Linked DNA regions of Homo sapiens: region 1 is linked to region 2. The links are contacts of gene promoters, found by promoter capture Hi-C in blood cells and fetal thymus (Javierre and others, 2016). All regions are on one chromosome and are shown on one strand. The core of a region is centred on a gene start or on the middle of the fragment in contact, and the rest is flanking DNA. Distances in the headings are between cores, read along the strand shown.

Region 1 (4,023 bases), core at 473-2,972, 2.1 Mb before region 2:
TATTAGATACTTGACTATAGTTCAGATAATTTTTTTGGCTTTTCCAATGATGTATCTCTCATATACAATTGAGCTTATTGTAGGGTTCCTTCAAAACCCAACCTATGCTGTATGAACCAATGAATCTACAAGGGCTGAATTATAGGACACATTACTCAAAGTTCAACGATTCCTGTGGAACATGTTTGTTTCTATATCAGGTGGTGGGTTACAAATATTTGCTTTCTTTAAAAGATGGATTTGCTCACTGTCACAAGGACAGAAAATCAAACACTGCATGTTCTCACTCATAGGTGGGAATTGAACAATGAGAACACATGGACACAGGGTGGGGAACATCACACACTGGGGCCTGTCATAGGATGGGGGGAGGGAGGAGGGATAGCATTAGGAGATATACCTAACGTAAATGATCAGTTAATGGGTGCAGCACACCAACATGGCACATATATACATATGTAACAAACCTGCACGTTGTGCACATGTACCCTAGAACTTAAAGTATAATAAATAAAGGATTTGCTCACATTTCTAAAAATTTTTATCTTTCCATTTCTTTTGTCTATGAATAAAAAAAACTCTAGATTTTTTTCTTTATTTCCAAAATATGGGAAGTAATCATAATTTAAGAATAAATGACAATCACAGAAGGGTTAAATACCATATAATGAAATACCTACCTGTCATTAAAAATCATGTGTATAGGTCAGGCACCATGGCTCACACCTGTAATCCCAGTGCTTTGGGAGGTCAAGGCGGGAGGATCACTTAAGGGCAGGAGTTTGAGACCAGCCTGGTCAACATAGCAAGGCACTATCTCTACAAAAAACTTAAAAATTAGCCAGGTGTGATGGCGCATGCCTGTAGTGCTAGCTACTCAGAAGCTGAGGTGGGAGGATCACTTCAGCCCAAGAGTTGGAGGTTGCAGTGAGACATGATTGTACCACTGCACTCCAACCTGGGCAACAGAGAGAGATGCTTTCTAAAATACAAAACAAAACAAAACAAAAAAAACAGTCATGTGTGCAAAGACTATTTAATGACACATAGAAATGCTTATATAATAACTGAAAAGAGCAGGCACAAACCCATATACAATATGACTTCTAATTATATTCTCACACACGAATCATAACAAATTATTTTAGTGGCAGAATTACATCTTAATTTTTCTTTTTTTTCTGTGTGTATAAATATACAGACATTCTTTGCAGGCAAAGATAATTTTTATTGAATCTGCGGTACTTATCTAGAATTGTGCCTGACACATAGTAGATACTCAATGAAATTTTGGATCATTGAGCATATAAAACCCATGCAGGAGAATTTCATTTTTATTGTCATTGTCATTGCAGCATAATCTCCTGAAATTTATACATCTAAAAATTAAATATTTTAAAAACAAATTCTAAATTCTAACAGAATGACTTTCACATTAAAGAATGTATTAAAGTAATGCCTATCTATATGGTATATATTTTATATAAGATATATATTTCATATGTGATGATATGTGCTATATTTATTTTCTAAATTGTTTCTACATCTATCATATAATTTACATATTCAGGGAAAATTTTTTTTTTAATAAATAGAGCAAGTTAGGCTTAGTGATTGCTTTTTACTAAAAGTTAAAACAGATGACTATCTGTCTTTTTCTTCTTTTAGTTCAAGTACAAAGAAGGCTATCGTAAGCAGCTCGGCCACCACATTGGTGCCCGAGCTATACGTGATGACCCCAAGATGATGTGGTCCATGCACGTGGCCAAGATCCAGAGTGACAGGGAGTACAAGAAGGACTTTGAGAAGTGGAAGACCAAGTTCAGCAGCCCAGTGGACATGCTGGGGGTGGTGCTGGCCAAGAAGTGCCAGACCTTAGTCAGCGATGTGGACTACAAGAACTACCTGCACCAGTGGACATGCCTGCCCGACCAGAGCGACGTCATCCATGCTCGGCAGGCCTATGACCTCCAGAGCGATGTGAGTACTGAGAGTCATAATAACGTGCAGAGGTGGGAAATTATTTAACACCCCTTGGAGAAAATGGCAATATATGGCACAAGCTCACCAGCCCCTGGAGGAGGCAAATAGCATTGCCTTTATCGACAGGAATTTTAATCCTTTAACCCTTCAGACCAAAGAGGAATATTGTGTGATACCTGGCCCGTCCACCAAACTAAATTTTGAGAGTGCTTTTACTTGATCTCTTATCCTTCAGATGAAAATGCATTGCTGATACAGAGATAAATATTTATTGGCTATTTGTGTCAACAGAATATGTACAAGTCTGATCTCCAGTGGATGAGAGGCATTGGCTGGGTGTCCATTGGCTCTTTGGATGTGGAAAAATGCAAAAGGGCAACTGAAATTTTGAGTGATAAAATCTATCGCCAGCCTCCAGACAGATTCAAATTTACCAGTGTGACTGACTCTCTGGAACAAGTGTTGGCCAAAAATAATGCCATCACTATGAACAAGGTGAGACTTCAAAATTAAGAATCGAAGTGGGGCTCCTAAAGCTGAATCAACAAAAAAGAAACATTAATGAGGAAAGAAAGAACATTGAGTAATAAAAGGCATCTATCTATCTGTCTATGTATCTATTGGCTTCTCATCTATCTATTAATAACTGATATATATCATGTATATTTTGATATTTAGTCATTGTTTCATGATTTTGATAAAGTAGCATATTTTATCAAAAAATAGTCTGCATAAAATATGCTTATTCTCATTTTCCTTTTGTTAACATACATTTCAGATTATTAGAAGGCATTTATAAATACACATTCCTTTATGAACTTATTACCCGAAGATGTGCATAAAACACATAATGTGTATAAAACACATAACCTTTTCTTTTTTTTTATAAAGTTTTTGTGGCCCTAAAATTCCTATTAACTATACACAGAACTTTTTTCCTGATGAATTTGTGTATTTTTTTTGATAGCGTTTATACACAGAAGCCTGGGACAAAGACAAGACTCAGATCCACATAATGCCAGACACACCAGAAATTATGTTGGCAAGAATGAACAAAATCAACTACAGTGAGGTGAGAGCAGATTCTTTGACATTTGCACACTGCTGCTTATTTCAGTTGATCTACTCTATGATGACATGATACCAAATGACAGCTTTAGAAAGAATCTTTTTCATGTTTCATGTGAATAACAACTCTTGCATTTCTCAATCACCATCATAAATGTCAAACTTTATGCAATATGAATTATCATTTAGGAAATACAAATGACATGAACTAATTATTTAAGCTGTAACCATGAGATTATGTAGACCATTTTCTTTTATTATTTTTTTGAAGTTAGGATATTAGCAATTGACCTATACATGTATCTCCCCTTTATGCTAAAGCATAACTGTAGTAAATATATTTTCCATATATTGTTCCTAAGTGTGGTTTAGGATCCAAATTTAAGATTTTTAGTATATAAGATTAAAGGCAAGAACTAAAATCCACAGTACTACCAGGTAACCCACACACACACACACACACACACACACACACAGAGAGAGAGAAATATCTGTCAGTGTAAATATTAGCAAGCCCATTTCCTTTCACTTTCAGTGTGCACAGGGCCACGTGCCATCATTCCAGAATCATAGAGGCTTAGGCAGAGAGTCAAGCCTCCACCCTAGTGCAAAGGTACCCCTCCCCACAAATAGGTTTTTGACCTGCCTTTGCTTAAGGGTTCCCAGTGACAAGGAGCTGATCTCATAAATCAGTCCATTCGTTCTGGAAAATTTATGAGAAAGCTTCTGATGTATTGAGTCACAACATTTCTCTCTGTAAACTCACATAGTCCTCTGAAGCTGCACAGAACAAATCTGTGCCAACCCCCAGAGATGGAGAGCAGCACCAGGGTGCCTCCCCTGCCACCTTCACCCCAGGTTCACCTTCAAATCCAATATCCCAAGCTGCGGGGCATTCCTCACATGACATCACTAGTAAAATGTGACTCTCAGAACTGAGCAAAATACTATGAGTGGGGAATGACTGATGTA
Region 2 (3,552 bases), core at 52-2,551:
CAAGATGAGCCTGGAGCAACTTATAGAAATTAAGAAAATGCTCAAGAAAAAAAATCAATAAACATAAAACGAGGAGGGTTTGTCAAAAAGACACAAATGCCAACTAAAGGAAATCTCAATAGCCAAAGCTGGAACCAATATGAACAACAAAATAAAGTAGTATTGGATTATAACCCAAAATGTAAAATAAATATCCATGAGTCCATACTGACATAAATGATTGAATACATAAATAAATGCAGTACAGACAAATCTCCCATGCAGAAGAATTCCAAATAATTCATGAAGATATTCTGTCCTCATAAAGGTGGAGTATAACAATTTCCCATTCCTATAGTTTGGGCTGCACAGAGAGATGTCCTTCCAAATAGTATAGTATGGAGAGGAAAAGAAAAACAGTAACTTCACAGTGGAGAAACCTGACAAACCCTACATAGGGAGGTGGAAGGGCTTACTAGATGAAACAAAGGGGATCTTTGTAGAACTATAAAACTTTTCTGTATGACACTGTAATAATGGTGATAAAGGTTAGCATCAACAGTAATAAGTCATGTTGATAGTATATACCCTTGATGTGATGTGATGAGAAGATCACTTTACCTTACCTCTTAACTCAAGAAAAACCCATAACCTCAGTTAATGCATGAGAAAAATACAGGCAAAACCCAATTGAAGGACATTTGACCAAATGACCAATAAGTCGCTTCAAAACTATTAAGGTTATCAAAAACAAGGAAAGTTTGAGAAACGGTCACGGTCCAGAGGAGCCTGGAAGACATGGTGATGTACTCCGGACAGGATCCTGGAATGGAAAAGAATACCAGGTCGAAAACTAAGGACATCTGGAATAAAATATGGGCTTATGGGCTTTAATCAATTTTTAAAAAAGTATTAGATACATGAAAATGATACACGATTTACAAATCAATCGCCTAATATTTATCGAGCATATTGAGAGCCTGGCACTGTGGTAGGGCTGGGGACACAGAAAGAGGTAAGTGCCCTATGCTCAAAAACAGCGATTCATGAAAAATAAACAACTATGACAAAAAGAACAGAAGACTGTATCTCCTGGAGGCAGTAAGGAAGGCTTAAGTTGGGAGGACTATCAAACGCATCAAGGAGTTACTGAAGATTAACTGACCCGCCTAACGCAGGTCGGAAGCCCTCCTATCCATCCACCCAAATCACCCCTGCCCCACCTTTTCTCCTCCCTTGCGTTTACCCAATGGCAGGTCGGCTCCACGTAGGCCTACTTTGCGCGTGCGCATCATCGTTTCGACGCGCTCGGAAGCAACTTCCTTTGCCTGCTCACCGCCAGCGTAGGTGCTACCACCGCTGCCGTCGCCGCCGCCATTTTGATGGCAGGAAGAGTCCGGTTCTGGGACAGCTGGAGACAGTGGTGGTGACTGGTACGGATGGTTTCCGCCCATGTTAGCCCCTCCAAATTTGCCCGTGTTAGGGTTACAGCCCTCGGTATTGCCCGTATTTTCACTGGGTCCCTGTCGTTGTCCCCAGCCATCCTGTCCGTCTGTCTTTAGTCTCTTTTCTGCTTCCTCATCTTTCCGATCAGCCTGAAGCTTTGCTTGGAGCTGTTGTTACGCAGCCCCAACTTCTGTTAAAGCAGCCGCTTCGATCCTCTGGACTGAATTTTGGCCACCCAGCCCCCATTCCCCTCCCGGATCTGGTCCGAGTTGTTTTTCCGCGGCTGTAAACCGGAAGGGCTCTGAGCTGCACTGCCGGCTCCGGGCTGGGGGATCTGTGCCTGGCATGGGGGCGAGTTCTGGCCTCCTTAGGGTACGGGGAGAGCTTGGACTTTGGTCCTGACGTGGTGGACGACACACCTTCGAAGAGTGGACGTTACCTCAGTTGTCTGTTGTTAGAGTTTAATCGATCACTCGTCTGTTTTGTTGTGTTCTTTCCCAGAAATAACTTTACCAAAGGAAAGCTATTTTGCGAACTATCTTCTCCAGCGGAGATGGCCAATGTGAGTAAATTATCTCTTAAGAATCAGCATAGTAAACTCGTTTGGGAATGTTAGGAATGAAAGAACGGGTTTAATTATGATGGCATTGGGTGGTATAGTGTTAGATATAATGTATCAAAAATGTCAAGGGAAGCAAGTGGTGTGAAATTATGTTATGCTTTGAAGATGGTAGCATTCTTTGCACTGCAAATACACTTATTTATACAATTTCATTTGTACAGATGTGGAAATTCAAGCACCCTTTCGGTATTTTTTAAATACAGCGTTTCAGTAAATATTAGAATCTATGTTTAGGCCCTTTTTTAGCTTTTGGGTTAGCTAAACTGAAGGGTTTTTTTAATCTTTTTTTCTTTTTTTTAAAACAGTTTCCATATTGGAAGTGACCTTCTAAATCCTACAAAATAAGAATAGGAGATACTCTCACACACCAGAGATATTTATTGACTGTAACTTTGCAGTGATTAGACACATCCTATCTATAGAATTCATATGTAGCGGTCATAAGACATATATAAAAACAGCTACAATTAAAGTATAAAGTAATAATTTTTTTTAGAACCTACACGAAGGTGCAATGCAGATTCAAGTCTTTGTGGAGAGGAGTTTGGGATCACTTCATGAGGGAAACATTTAACTTGAGGTTTGAAAGATAGGTGGGATTTGTATAGTCTAAAATATGAGCGGGAAGGACAGGAAGGTATATTCAAAGAACTCCCCAACCCGCCTACCCCTTTGAAAAACTGAAAAGTGACTGCTGCCTGCCAACCTGAATGTAAGCTGCATGAAAGAGATAAGTGGGAGATAAGGTTGAATTGTGAGGTTGGTACCAAGTAAATGAGAGCCTTGAATGCCGAACTCAGTAATTTAGACTTCATTCTTTAAATTGTGATTATTCACTTAGAGCTGTGTGCTAGGAAGATTTATATGGCAGCATTTAGCCAGGATGCTATTTCTGTAATTGAACATGGTATATTAAGTCTAAAGTGTGACTATAGAGACAAGTCATAAGAATAGATTACTAGTCTTGGCCAAGTTCTATGGTGAATTTTTGCCTGCCCATAACCTGCACAGAAAGAGAATGCTGTAAAAGAAGTATGTGGTACTTTCAAAGGAGAGAAATTAATTGAAGTAGAATAGAATGCTATTATTTGACCTGGTTTTATTTTGGTTTAAATGAATAAATTATAATAGTTCAGTAGGGAAGATCCTTTTATAAGTCTTTTGTTAGAAAGAAGTTCATATTAAAATAAATTTAAGTTTCAGTATCCAAATGTACGATAACAATTTTTGTGTTAATTTATATGGATTGTAAATTGTGGATGGATGTTACTAATGAAATATGCAGATAGTGTTTCATAACAAGGGGCAAGAATGTTCATGTTTCAGAGTCTAGACAGGTACATTAAGAAGCCTTCATGGGGACTGTGACAAAGCCTTTCTGAACAAAGGGGAGCAACCTTTCCTTAGCTACAGTGATTTGTTGCTAACTAATGCCATTTGGTTATGTGAATCCAATACTGCCAGATCTTCTGAGTTTTCAAGAAGAGCCAAATTTCTGGACCTTT

Evidence for each region. Contacts are between HindIII fragments. The CHiCAGO score rates a contact against its expected background, and 5 or more counts as called.
Region 1: a contact is called between a fragment that was not itself captured here and the fragment with the promoter of MMADHC in region 2, in 2 of 17 cell types (total CD4 T cells and non-activated CD4 T cells). The highest score is 5.6, in total CD4 T cells.

What each region holds. Positions count from the first base shown.
Region 1 is chr2:151,638,312-151,642,334 of GRCh38, reverse strand. It overlaps NEB (nebulin), which reads left to right. Exons shown (of 182, transcript NM_001164508.2): 61 at 1,669-1,980; 62 at 2,275-2,478; 63 at 2,951-3,055. Among named protein-coding and RNA genes, the nearest start is that of NEB, 94 kb to the left of the region's middle. The HindIII fragment of the contact is 4,109 bases long and covers 1-3,776 here.
Region 2 is chr2:149,585,524-149,589,075 of GRCh38, reverse strand. It overlaps MMADHC (metabolism of cobalamin associated D), which reads left to right and starts at 1,301. Exons shown (of 8, transcript NM_015702.3): 1 at 1,301-1,412; 2 at 1,927-1,987. The coding sequence starts at 1,979. It overlaps MMADHC-DT (MMADHC divergent transcript), which reads right to left and starts at 1,718. Exons shown (of 3, transcript NR_110240.1): 1 at 1,226-1,718. RefSeq lists enhancers at 1,255-1,574, 891-2,090. The HindIII fragment of the contact is 5,011 bases long and covers 1-1,582 here.